2 separate regions of the Homo sapiens genome follow, and region 1 is linked to region 2. Evidence: promoter capture Hi-C in 16 types of primary human blood cells and fetal thymus (Javierre and others, 2016). All regions are on one chromosome and are shown on one strand. Each heading gives the region's core, a stretch centred on a gene start or on the middle of the fragment in contact. The rest is flanking DNA. Distances are from core to core; before and after follow the strand shown.

Region 1 (7,266 bases), core at 1,152-3,651, 1.0 Mb after region 2:
GGCCAGAAAAATGAGGTGGTCCTTTAAGCAGTGCAGTTTTCTACTAGGGAATTGCTGCATTAGTAGTTGATCCGTGCAGTACCTTTCAGCTCCACAACGAATTCTGCCACTATTGGAATTCAACATTCATTTAGTTGAATAAATACTGAACAGGTACTATGAGCTACTCTGTATTTACGGGATATAGCAGTGAGCAAAACGGACAATCCCATCTCTCATGGAGTTCTTTCTAGTGAGAAAGAGAAACAATAGACAAGATAAATAGGTAAAATACATAGCATCCAAGCAGTGAGTACTAAGGAAAGGGAAATGGGATATTTGTGTGAAATGAGGATCATAAAATTTTCCATAGGATGGCCTCACTGAGAAGGTGATATTTGAGTAAGGAAGTGAGTGATATGAGTTCTTGGGAAAAAAAGTGTCTGAAGCAGAGGGAAACCAAAGACCCAAAGGCAGGAGCATGCTTAGCATGCTCACGGAATTGCATGTAAGCCAGTTTGGCTGGAACTTGCTTAAGAGATGTGAAGAATCAAAGGCAATTACATCAGAGAGCTTAGGATATGGGATGTAGTAGATCAGAATGTTTAGGACCTTTTTTGGCTGTTAGACATACTTGACTTTTTTAGTAGAATAGTGTGTTAGTCAGCTCAGGCTGCCATAACAAAATACATAGATTGGGTGGCTCAAACAGTAGAAATATATTTTCTCACAGTTCTGCCTGCTGGAAGTCTGAGATCAGAATGCCAGCATGATCATGTTCGGGTTTTCTTTTTGGCTTGCAGACAGTACCTTCTCAATGTCTCCTCAGATGATAAAGAGAGCGTTGTCTCTTTTCTTATAAGGGCACCAGTTCTGTGGAATCAGGGCTTTACCCTGATCACCTCATTTAACCTTAATTATCTCCTTAAAAGGACTGTCTCCAATACAGTCACATAGGAGTGAGGAGAGGATTCGGGCTTCAACATATTAATTTAGCAGGGTACACAACAGTCCTTGGCAGATGGCAGGTTATTGGAAGGTTTCAGTGGAGGAATGACATCTGCCATTTTTAAAGGATTCATCTAGCTGTCTTGTAGGTAGGCAAGGGATAAATGGTTGGGTCAAAGAAGCAAGGAGATGTGTTAAGAGGTATTACAGCAATCCAGGAAGTGATGATAGCGCTTTGACCACAGTGGGTATCAGTGGAAATGGGGAAAAGTAGTTGAATTCTGGGGAAACAATAGAATTTGCTGATGGATGTGAAGTGTGAGAGTCCAAGGGTTTTGACCTCAGCAACTGGAAGAATAGTATTGCTATTTTCTGAGATGGCAAAGGAGGTTAAAGGAACAGGTTTGGGTTGGATGAATATCAGGAGCTTAGTCTGAGATGTCTGTTGGAAGAAACACACAAATGTGTATTAATAATAAATAGTAGTCACTCATATAAATTTGTAACTGCAAACAGAAGTTCTAGGGGATAGGAACGTAGTATAAGGAAAATGCAAAATAGGCCAGACTTAGTCAAGACAGAAGTGACTTTTTAGCAAAGGTCTAAAGGAAAATTAGGACCAAATTGTCACTAGAGGGTTTCCAACAAGGGAAATATTGTGGACAAATGCCCTCATGGAGTGAGCAGGGACTATCAAAGAAGCAAGAAGCTTGAAATCAGTTTGGTTAAAGCATAGGGAAGGATTGGGGGCAAAAGTAGTAAGAGATGTGTCTGTATTCTAAAAGCCCTATAAAAGCATTAATGGGTTTCTGGATAGATTGAGGGGCACATAATCAGATTTGTGCTTATTAAAACTCTCTAGGCCTGGCAAGGTGGCTCACACCTGTAATCCCAGCACTTGGGAGGCCAAGGCGGGTATATGGCTTGAGCTCAGGAATTCGAGACCAGCCTGGACAACAATAATGAAACCCCATCTCTACCAAAAAAACCCACAAAAATTCAAAAATTAGTGGGGCGTGGTGGCACGCACCTGTATTCCCAGCTCCCTGGGAGGCTGAGGTGGGAGGATCACTTGAGGTGGGGGTTGTAGTGAGCTATGATTGTGCCACAGCACCCAGCCTGGGCGACAGAGTGAGACACTGTCTCAAAAAATAAATAAATAAAAATAAAACTAGTTATATTATGAGCAGAAGAGTGGAGAAGAGGAAGAATAAGCATGGAAAGTCAGGACACAATTTCACTAATCTAGCTGTGAGTTGATAGTAGTAATAGTAGTTAGCCTTTATAGAGAATTTAGGTCCTGGATACTGTGCCAAAATCTATACATTCATAATCTTACTGAATTCTCGCAACACTATGAAGAAAATCATAAGATTACATCCATTTTACAGATGAAAAACTTGGTTAAGGAAAAAATAAGTAATTCCAACATTAATGAGCACATAAAAGACCTACAAAGGTCAGGAGGTGAGAAGAAAATCAGATGAAGGCATTTGAAAACAGGATCAGCTGTGTTAAATTGGGCCAAGAGGCAGAGAAAAATGAGTTGAATATATATTGACTTTAGTAACATGTATTAGCCAACAAAATGAGAGAGCAATGCAGTGAGGGGAGGGCCACAAACATTCCAGGAAATATCAAAGTGTATTATGTGAAACTTATGAAAAATTTATCAGGAGAGATCTCCTTTACTTAATTGTTGGCAAATATTTCATTGTCAGACTTACCAGGTGTCAGTTTAGAGACTAACCTTGAGAACAGACTTGCTATCAGTGCCGTGGTGGGAACCTGACTGATTTTGCTGTATTTCCTTTTTGCCACAAGGCCAGCCTTTGACATTGTGTGTGTCTGAGTACTTACTAATATTTATTTCATGTAGTTGGAATTTTAGGATTAGAAGTGACTTGCGTAGTTGTTTTCCAAACTTCTCAATTCACAAATGCCAAAGTATCCTAAAAGAAGATATAAATTATGTTAGACCTACAACTTCTCATATCTGCAGCATCAGAGCATGTGAAGTGCAAAGCCATGTAGAACCTTTGAAATCAGCTCTCTTTTCCTTTTTTTTCTTACAGTGAGTTTTAGTTAGACATGCTGTGCTGACATTCTGCATGGTTGTGGCTTTGCTGTTTTATTAGATGGCATTCAGAGTACAAATTGAGTAAATGGTATTTCCCTTGAGAAATAATGTGATTATTCTGTTACAGAAAAAAGAAAAAAGTTACCCTAAAGAAGCTTTTTTATAGGCCTAGCACAGTAGCTCATGCCTATAATCCCAGCACTTTGGGAGGCCGAGGCAGGCGGATCAGATGAGGCCAGGAGTTCGAGACCAGCCTGGCCAACATGGGGAAACCCTGTCTCTACTAAAAATACAAAAATTAGTTGGGTGTAGTGGTGCATGTCTGTAATCCCAGCTACTAGGGAGGCTGAGGCATGAGAATTGCTTGAACCCGGGAGGCAGAGGCCTCATTGAGCCGAGACTGCGGCACTATGCTGTAGCCTGTGCGACAGAGTGAGACTCTGTATCCAAAAAAAAAAAAAAAAGAAGAAGCTTGTTTTTTTTTGTAAGAAACAAAGCTTGTTTATGTAAAAAAAAAAACAAAAAACTTGTTATGTAGTAAATGTTATAATTTTGCTTTCTTACCTAAGTCCCGGTCACCTTCTTCTTTAATTAAAAATATTATAAAGATTTTAGTCAGTCATAGAATTAAACATTAATTGAAATTGTACTGTGCTTTTCCTCTAGACAATATATAAATTCATATTTGTAAATTATGTCTTTCAAAAGAGACAGCTCAAGTTTTTTGCTTACCCAGGTAGTAAATTCATGACAAATGCATTTAAAAAACAGTCTTTCTTTCTTATCCCTACTTTTGTCTACACATGTTTGTTGTAAAGCTATTCAAAGAAATCTTTTCCAATTTAAAATCTGTATTAGAAAAGTTATTTGTGATTACTTTTGTACTTCTAACTATACAGGCTGTGGATATTTGCAAACTTCAAAGTTCAAAATTGTTATCAAATATTAATATTTGAAGGAATTACTTGTATATAATAGCTTAGTGATTACACACATGGACTCCAGCACCAGACTGCCTGGATTTGAATCTCAGCTCCATCAGCTCCGCTATTTGTTGTGTGATCTTGGCTTAGTGTGACCTCTGTGCCTCAGTTTCCTAATCTATAAAATGGGGTATAACAATGGTAGCTTTTTTTTTTTTTAGACAGAGTCTCGCTCTGTCACCCAGTCTGGAGTGCAGTGGTAAGATCACAGCTCACTGCAGCCTTGATCTCCCAGGCTCAAGTGATCCTCCCACCTCAGCCTCCTGAGTAGCTGGGACCACAGGTGCAGGCCACCATCCCCGGCTAATTTTTTTGTTTTTTGTAGAAACAGGGTATGGCCATGTTGCCTAAGCTGGTCTTGAACTCCTGGACTTAAGCAGTCTGCTTTCCAAAGTGCTAGGATTACAGGCATGAGCCACCACACCCTCATACTTGTGGAGCTATGAGGATTACATAAAGTACTATTCGTAAAATACTTAGAATAGTGCCTGATAATATGGTAAGGCCTAATGTATGTAAACAGTAAATAAATGCTTAAAACTTAATATTTTATTCAAAAAACAAACAGGGCTAAGATACAACCTTTAGGTCATATCTTTTCTTGCAAGTATGTCCTGTTTTATTTTTTACTTTGCTTTTTGTTTTGATTTTGAGAGGTATTTAGGTAATTTTTTGAGTAGCATGTAAGCTATTTTTTTTTTCTGTTACAGATTTTTAGGGCAGTTTTTAGTGTCATTATGTTGCTGCTACATATTTGGAAGATGGAACAAGCCCAGACAAAGGAGGATTCTTTTTTACTCATCTTAAATCCATTTTATTTTCCTTCATCTGAGCCCCTTAAAACTAATGTGTTACTGGTAAGTTGGTGTGTGCCTGTAGTCCCAGCTACTAGGGAGGCTAAGCCAGGAGTATCGCTTCAGCCCCAGAGTTCAAGACCAGCCTGGACAACATAGCAAGACTCCCGTCTTAGAAAAAAATCTGTACAGATATGTTATAGGAACATTTTGTCTGCATTCACTACATTGCACTATACTTTAAAAAAAAAGAGATTTAAAATACAAATACTGACACTTAACACACATGTACTCATATCTTAATAATTAGTTTAATTGCTTCCCCTTTATGGAGTCAAATAATATAATGCGTTTCCTAACTAACTGTATACTTATATTTTCCTCAATGTTAATGAAAAATCTCTAATATTTTTATCCTCTTATATTTCTTAATTATTAATCTATTTTCACTTTTAAAAAGCCATAAAAATAAGATATGTTTTTATAATTATTCTAGATGCCTGAAATTTTGTAAAAATCATAAATATGGAAAAGATCTTAAAGGGTTATGTAATAAGCCCCTACTTTGCACAATATTCTACCTCTGACACTTTTAAGAAAATAATTTCTAGTAACACATCCTAGTGGTTACAAGTCCTTATGCCATAGCATTGGACATTAATAATCACTCAAATACTTATTGAGGAATAAGATGTTCTTCCTAATGACTAAATTAAATTATTCTCATTATAATTCAATTCTTTGGCTTCTTGTCCCATTCTTCAGAGGTTATGGTAACCCGTAAAAGTGTAAGGTTATTTTCAGTTTTATTTTCTAAATGATTTCCTCTTGCATGTCATTATAGGACCAAATTTCTAAGTATGTAATTATTTTTATTACTGTCCTCTGGGCCCTTTCCAAGTAATTTAATCTTCCTTTAAATGTGGGCCAAAACTATTAGGTTCAATATGGCAGTTTTTAAAAACATGAGTATGAAGGTAAAGGCAGGTTATTACGGTTCATGTAATTGTTTTCATTTAAAACTGAAGTACCAGCTGACTTTGAATATGGCCCTGAGTATCAGCTCTTCTGATTAGTCAAGAAATGTTTCTTGTTTTTTAAGAGATTTGAACTAAAATTCCACCTCAATTGTAACCAATTTTTTTTTTTTTTTTTTTTTTTTTTGAGACTGAGTTTCTCTCTGTTGTCCAGGCTGGAGTGCAGTGGCATGATCTCGGCTCACTGCAACCTCTGCCTCCCGGGTTCAAGTGATTCTCCTGCCTCAATCTCCCAAGTAGCTGGGATTACAGGTGCTCACGAACAGGCCTGGTTAATTTTTGTATTTTTAGTAGAGATGGAGTTTTACCATGTTGGCCAGGCTGGTCTCGAACTCCTGACTTCAAGTGATCTGCCGGCCTTGACCTCCCAAAGTGCTGGGATTACAGGCTGAGACACCCACCATGCCTGGTTGAATTGTAACCAATTTCTAGAGACATAAAATTCTTAATATATATTATATAATATAGATAGATATTATTGATATATATTCCATATTATATAATTCTTGATATAATATATAATTCTTGATATATAATAGGATATATATCAAGAATTTAATATCTATAAGTCAAGTAGATATTTATTATTTATAACATCTTTCTATTTATAAAGTAATAATTAATATAGAAGTCATAGGAAAAAAGCAAAAGGAAGTAACACTTATAATGCCATCACCCTGAAATAACATTTTCCTGTTTATGGTATTACAAAATGATTTATGGTATGTTTTATAGTTTTTAAAACCAGTAATGTGAACATTTCTCTATATATGAAAATGGATATCTTGCAATTGCATGATTTCTAATGGCTTCATAATATTGCATCATGTAGATTTATCATAATTTACTGACTCTATCACCTATTTTTGAACCCTGTTTATTTCATTTTTAAATAAGAGCAAGCAGTGCTACATTGGATGTCTTTGTGCATATATCTTTCTTAATTGAGTATTTCCTTAGGATAAATTCTTAGAAGTGAAATAGCAGGGTATGTATATTTTTAAAACTTTTGGCATACATATCAAAATTGATTTTCAGAAAGGTTATTATCAATTTATCCTTCTGTCAACATTGTGTTTGAATTTCTGCCTTCCACCACCCTTATAAAGTCAGAGTAAAATCTTTCTTAATCTTTGTCAATCTGATTAGCAAAAAAAAAAAACAACAAAAGTTTAATTTGCAGATCATTGACTTCTAGTGAGGTTATAGTTTTTAAAGTTTCTTAATCATTTATATATTTTTATTTCTGAATTGCCCATTGATATCTATAGAAGACCATTACTGTATCCTAGAAGTGGGGTTTCCATTCTCTCTTGTTGTGGTAATAGCATACACATTTTTCTTGTTGTTTTTGTTTGGGTTTTGTTTTGTTTCTTTGGTGAGGTGGGGGTAATTCTTTTACTGGAATTACCTCTCTGTGTGTAGTTTTGGAAGGACATAATAGA
Region 2 (6,722 bases), core at 637-3,136:
GAGGTGTCAGACACGAAAACGCTTGAAGACATAAAAATGAGGAGTCTTAAGCACCTAAGAACTGCAATTCCCTATCTGAGCAGCAGGTAAGATTCTGGGGTATCAGATCACTGTATCCAGTTCCAGGTTCTCCACTGGCAGAGAGTGCAGTCTCTGACTTTGTCCTCTGAATGCAGGAACTTTATCGAAGCTAAAGTACCTGCTTTGGACACTTCTGGCACAGGTGTTGGGGTGACAGGAAACATCATCAATTCAGCTGCCAACTACAGCGGAAAAAAACTAGGGAATAATCCTCAGAAAATGGCACTGTTAATGGGTACAAAAAACACAGATAATAGGAATAAGCTCTAGTGTTCAGTAGCACAATAGCGTGACTATAGTTAACAATAATTTATTGTATATTTCAAAATAACTACAAAAATGAATTTGGAACAAAGAAATAAATGATAAATGTTTCAGGTAATGGATATTCCAATTACCCTGATTTGATCACTACACTGTATGCTTGAATCAAAATATCACGTCTCCTATAAATATGTACAACTATTATGTGCCCATAAAAACTAAAAACAAAAAAGAAAGAAAATGACACTTAAATATTAAAATACCTTTTATCCCCGAATCCCACATTTCAGTTTGGTCTTCTGAAAAAATGACTTATCAGTTTCTCAGCTAAAGAAATGATATCGACAGTGTACTACCTAAATTATACCTTATATTCTTTCCTTTCCAAAATATAAATTCGCCAGTGAACAATCTGATCCTAAAGAGGGCGGAAGATTAACCCGCCTAGCATGAGAGCACAGCTTAAAATAAATGCTGTTAAGTAGTCCTCAGGTAGAACAACTTTCCCAGCCAGCAGGCCCAGGAACTCAAGGTCTAGCTTAAGTTGGGTATTTGTATTCAAGAAGGAATTACAATCATGGAGTCAAATGACTTTTTCAATGCAGACGACAAAACGTAATCAAGTCAGTAGACACTTTACTAAGAGGAGGCTAAGCAAATGGTTATTTGCTTAAGGTTAGGGAACTCTTAAGCCCAAGGACCTGAGAGCCTGGGAAGGCGGGGGGGAATGGGTTTGACTCCCAAAGTTTGCGTTTCCGCAAGTGGTTAACACAACTCTAGGAACAAACCCTAAGACCAATACTCCCCACAATCTCATTTCCCCCCATTCTGCATCACCCATCACCCCAAAATAAAAACAGCTACTACAGCACAGCCCTTTGGTTACGCAGGAGGCTGGGACCTGATCCTGGCATAAAAAGCGGATGCGGGCGACCGAGGACCACACACGTGGGGGCGTTCGCGGGCGCTGAAACCAGCTACGAGGCCCACGCCCCCGCCGGGGACAGCTGGTGACCATCACCTTTGGACAGGGGCATTCCCCAGCCGGCCCCGGAACTTGCGAAAGACGCGCAGCCCTTCGGACTCAGCCACTCGCGCAGGGCCCGGGTCCCGGGCGGCTCGGGGCACCTGAGGAGCGCGGCGAAGGCGGGGACAGGGACGGGGACGGGGACGACTCGGGAACAGGGAAGCGCGCGGCCTCCCGCAGGACCCACCTGGATCTGCAACGGCACGAGGCGCACCTTGCAGCGCTCGCTCACCGCGAAGCCCTTGGGCAAGTCCACGTACTGGCCCCACTCCTCGGCGAACAGCTGCACCACGAATTTGCGGTGCATGTCGATCTGGTCGCCGTACAGGCTGAGGAACTTCTGGATGAGCAGCTCGTAGCCCGCCCCGTGTGGCACCGACGAGGGTCGCGCGAAGACTGAGAAACAGAAGAGCACCGGGACTGTGCCCGACGGCGCCCCCGCGCCCCCGGCGCCGCTGTTGGGGAGCGCAAGGACCGCCGGCTCCGCAGCCGCCATGTTCCCCCGAGCGTCTGCGAGCTCCGAGGCCGCCCAGTCGCACCCAGCCGGCTGCCGCGGCCCCGCCTCCCGGCGATGCCAGCCCGCCCGCCAGCTCGCGGAGGCGAAGGGGCGTGTCCTGACGACCGCTGCTCGCGCGCTCTCTTACCCGCCCCGGAGGGCGGGCCGCGGCGTAAGGGTGGGTGGTGGGGCCGGGGTGCGCGCGTGAGCCAGGGAGCGCCTGCGCTCGCCGGCCGGGTCCGCCCCCTCCAGCTTCCCGGGCCGCTGCGTTCCCGCAGTTCCCCGCTCGCGCCCTTTCTGCCGCGGTTCTGACTGCCGGCAGAACGCCTAGTGGTCTCGCAGACCCAAGACCCGCCTGGGCTGCCCGTTGTTCTTGCCCCGGTGCTGCAGCTCACACAAGGGTTTGTACCACCCTTCCCCTAACGCTGGCCCTCTTCGCGGCTTCGCTCGCCTTCGAATGAGCAGTGTTCTTGGCAGTCTAGGGTTGTGGTTGGGTACACAGAGCCGCCAGGACGAGTTACCTGTTGGCTCTGTGCAGAAGCATGCAGTCCTCCTCGAGATGGCAGTGGTATCTTACAACCAAAGGGACAGTCCGATAGATACCCTAAGAAGAGCAGCAGAATTTAATCCTTAGAGGGCCAGTCAAGGTTCAAGTTTTGTCTTTTTTCGGTCCCACAGAACACAATATCTCTAGGAATGGATTTGATATCTGGCCTCCCTTCATCTCAACCTATTTCTGGGAGGACTTGGATTTGGGAATATAAATACTATTAAAAGCAAAAATCTGAACTTTATATTGAAACTAAGGATATCTGTTTTTAAGTAAGTAAAAGGGATCACTTTCAAATAAAACAATCCTCTGCCTTCTGCACACTGTAAGGCGCTATAATTAACTGGAATTAGAAAGCATGCATTATGAACAGAATTTCCTTGGAATTGAGTCCTGCGAAGATAGGCATGGGCCTAAACATAAAATTAGATTTTAGGTATTAAAGCTGTCCTCTTCTAAGAAAATAACCTTTAAAGCAGGGTTTCCCAACTGACACTGTTGACTTCTGGAATGGACATTTCTCTTTCTTGGGGATGGGGCATCTTGTGCATTTGCAGGATATTTAGCAGCATCACCGGCTTCTACTCCCGCTAGATGCCTAGTGACCGCTCCTCCCTCTAGTTATGGCAATCAAAAATGTTTCCAGACATTGCCAAATATTCCCCAGAGGGCAAATATACCCCCTACTTGAGAACCACACTGCTTTAAAGTTATGAAAAGACCATCCTTTGGTGTTTCTTGCTCAATTGTACCGAAGCTACTAGAAATAGCCATTTTTTTCTGGTTCTCATCACACTTTGAGAGATCCCATTTAAAAGTGTTGTCTGAACCCGTCAGACCCAAAATGATATTTTTTTCCGGATACCACTCCATTGCAAGGTCTTCTATATGCAGATATGCTGATTTGTGCTAATAAGTGTACCCCCTCAAGACCTGATTACCAAAAGGTACCTACCTATTTTGGGTGGACTAATAAAAGTGTTCCTTCCACCCTGTAAAGCCTCCTAACACAGAGTAGGTTGGAGATTAGAGATTGGCCTAGACTTCAGACATCCTCAGCGAGGACCTTGGCATCTACACAGTCTTCTGCCGTGGCCCTCATGGCCGTGAGTCAACATACTTCATTTCCCTTTCATGTTTTTAAATTAGGTTTCTGACCCTTCAGTAAGGAAATCAACTTCCATATATATTGTGCTGTCTGAGATTGGTCCTTGACAACCTAGTTTAATGGTGCAATCATTGTGGTAATAGCATGTTAAATAACATTAATAAAATAGATATTTGATGGGCACATTTACCATTTATTGAATATCAACTGTGTATCAACCTCTGCATCACTGGGCTGCAAAAGGGAGGTGAATGCACATTTCAGTGATAAATTATTATCCTCAGAAATACAATTATTAAGATAATTTTTATAAATGTTACCAGAAAAAGTGAGTAAGACCCCATAAATGAATATTCAAATGACAAGTAGAAAATAACTGTTCTAATTGACAAGATCATATTATGGACCAAATGCCCAAAATTTTCTCATATAGGACTCTCAGTAGCTTTATTAGTTAATGTTAAATGCTTACTTTTAGAATCTAAATTCCAAGAAAATCAAGAAGGTATATTACACAGTATTGATTAATACATTAATATGCTACAGAAACAAACCCCAAAATCTCAATAGACTGATAAAACAAAGGCTTATTTCTCACCTTTCCCAGTTAACAGCAACATTTGACAAACCAATTACTCCCTTTATTTTGAACCATATTCACTTTGTCTTTGGGATACCACTCTCTCTTATTTCTCCTTCCACCTCACTTCAAGCTCGTTTCCTATGTTCCTCTCATTCCCCAAACCTCTATAAATACAAGTATACCAGAGCTCAGTCCTCACATCTATTATCCTAAGACTGTGGCTTTAAATATCACCCATATACCTTTGACTTCCAAATTTTTAACATCCAGGCCCTCACTCTGCACTCCATACTCATACACAAGTGCCTATTCGACATCTCCACTTGGATATTCAATAGATACCTCACATTTAAATGTACTAACAGAACTCTTAGTTTTCTTCTGTCCTCGAATATTTTCTCTCCCCTGTTGATATCTAGGCAAATGGCAACCCCGTTTTAGTAACTGAGTACAATAACCAGGGGTTTATCCTTTAATTTACTCCTCTTTCTGTCCTTGTCCAGTCTATCAGCAAGACCTGGTGGTCAGAACCAAATTCCTCTCATTCACACCAGTGCCACCACCTAAGACAAAACCACTGTCGTCTTCCATCTAACTGTAACTCATCATAAGTTGTGCCCAATATTTGACTTTTGTATCCCTATTTATCCATTTACCTCATTTACATAGACTTTTATACTCCATTTACCACACGGCTATTAGAGTGGCACTTTTTCAAAAACATAAATTTAGAGCGTGTCACTGCTGTGTTCAGAATCCTCCAGTATATAAAAATAGACCTCAAGACAATCTAGATGTTAGGATTAAGAGAAAAAGAACTTTAAAGAAGTTGTTACAAGTATATTCAAGGTCTTAAAAGAAAGGGTAGCCATAAGACTGAGCAGATAGGGAATACCAGCAGGGAGATGGAGATGACTGAAAACATAGCCAAATGTCACTTTTCAAGCTAAAAGTGCAATGTCTGGAGTGAAATGCTCACTGGGTAATCTAAACTTCAGATTATAGGTTCCAGAAGAAATGATTAGTGAAATTGCATGCAGAGTACTAGAAATTATCCAATGTGAAGAACAGGAAGAGATTGAAAAAAGTATGATGACAGTTTTAGTAACCTGGAGGGCAATATCAAATGATCTAATATGTAGTTGGAGTCCAAGAGGGAGAGATGAGACAAGAATGGAACAGAAAGAATATTGGAAGAAATAATAGCCAAAATAGCACTGTCTATTAAGTCTTCAGTGTGCTGATTTTTATCTCAGAGTCTGCTTTCCAGGGAAATCAACCTGTGACATTTGTTGCTAGGAAAGATGAAAGGAGGCCAATGTGGATGGATTTTGGAGCTGGGTCACCCACTGTTGGGCAGATAATGAATACCTAACCACTAATATCTGTGGAGCACAGATAGCCCCTGGCAGTTTTTTTAAACTTCCAGCAAGATGAACTAGAATCATATACTACTGGAAAGGAATGCCTTCACTGTAATTAAGAATTTGAAAAATATGGAGGAAATACTAATTATAAGAATAAAGGAATTGAATGACAGTTTCAAAGTTTGATTGATGCTCTAGAAAAAGACCAAAAAAAAGATAGTTGGCAACTAAAAGCTAAGTGTGAAGGCTGGAAGAACTTTTTGGCAGCATTGAGTCTCTCAGTTCCTGCAATAAGAAGAGAGAGAAAGCTGAGGACCAAGACTAGGACTGAAGGTAGCAGAGCTCCAAAGAAGGTTAAACTCTTAAAAAATGCATATTTTCTATGCCAAGGTCAGGACTCTGGTTGAGAAATGGGACCGTGACACATGGGATAAAGTTGATGACACTGAAAATTATGAGTCCTTCGATTCTTTTAATTGATCTGGTCTTTAGAAATGACTTACTCTTTTCTTAATGACTAGCATTCCCTCATTTCTTGAAGGCAATGCAAAGCCTTTTCTCTAGCAAGACATTAGCTTTCCCAGGCTCTTCCCTCTCCTTCCCTCCTGATACCTATATCCATAAGTAGGCTTAATTAACAGTAAAATCTGGCCACAGATATGTTGGGCCTGAAAAAGAAGGAATATATCCAAGAGCAGCTACAGAATCTAATAACCAGCATATACCATCAGGAGCAGAGAGATTATGCACAGCACTGGATTTGGAGGGTGTGTGATCGAGGATGTGGAACAAAAAAGTTTCTCGGTTAGGAAACACCATATTAGGATAGAGGATTTAACACCCTAGTAAGGTTCTTGGGAGATGGTCTGAACACAGTGCTTCTAAGGCTGCTCTTAAATGGGCCATAAATTTACAACCTTACCCCAAGGCTATGTTAACTGTCCTGCCGTCTATTACAATATACTCTGAAGAGATATAAGTTAGCTGGACATCCTGCAGAATATCACCTTCATTCACTGTATCAATAACATCATGCAGATTGAACAAGATGAACAAAAAGTGACTATTCATTGAAGGCCTTGGTAAGACACAAGTGTTCCAGAGGGGAGTGATAACCTCTAAATAGTTTCAAGGAACCACCACATTAGCAATGTTTTAGGGCCCAGTGTCCTAAGGCATTCTAAGACATCCCCTCCAAAGTACAGGACAAATTATTGCTTTTTACACTTGCACTTTCTACCATGAA

Evidence for each region. The method cuts DNA at HindIII sites, captures the fragments that hold promoters and counts their contacts. A CHiCAGO score of 5 or more calls a contact.
Region 1: a contact is called between a fragment that was not itself captured here and the fragment with the promoter of ISOC1 in region 2, in 1 of 17 cell types (total CD4 T cells). The highest score is 5.2, in total CD4 T cells.

Annotation. Positions count from the first base shown.
Region 1 is chr5:128,074,528-128,081,793 of GRCh38, reverse strand. All of the region lies in intron 1 of SLC12A2-DT (SLC12A2 divergent transcript), which reads left to right. Among named protein-coding and RNA genes, the nearest start is that of SLC12A2-DT, 5.0 kb to the left of the region's middle. The HindIII fragment of the contact is 1,526 bases long and covers 1,639-3,164 here.
Region 2 is chr5:129,089,913-129,096,634 of GRCh38, reverse strand. It overlaps ISOC1 (isochorismatase domain containing 1), which reads right to left and starts at 1,886. Exons shown (of 5, transcript NM_016048.2): 1 at 1,560-1,886. The coding sequence starts at 1,868. LOC124901060 (a long non-coding RNA gene) reads left to right here. Exons shown (of 2, transcript XR_007058926.1): 1 at 1-86; 2 at 1,236-3,709. RefSeq lists a silencer at 1,489-2,268. The HindIII fragment of the contact is 22,217 bases long and covers 1-6,722 here.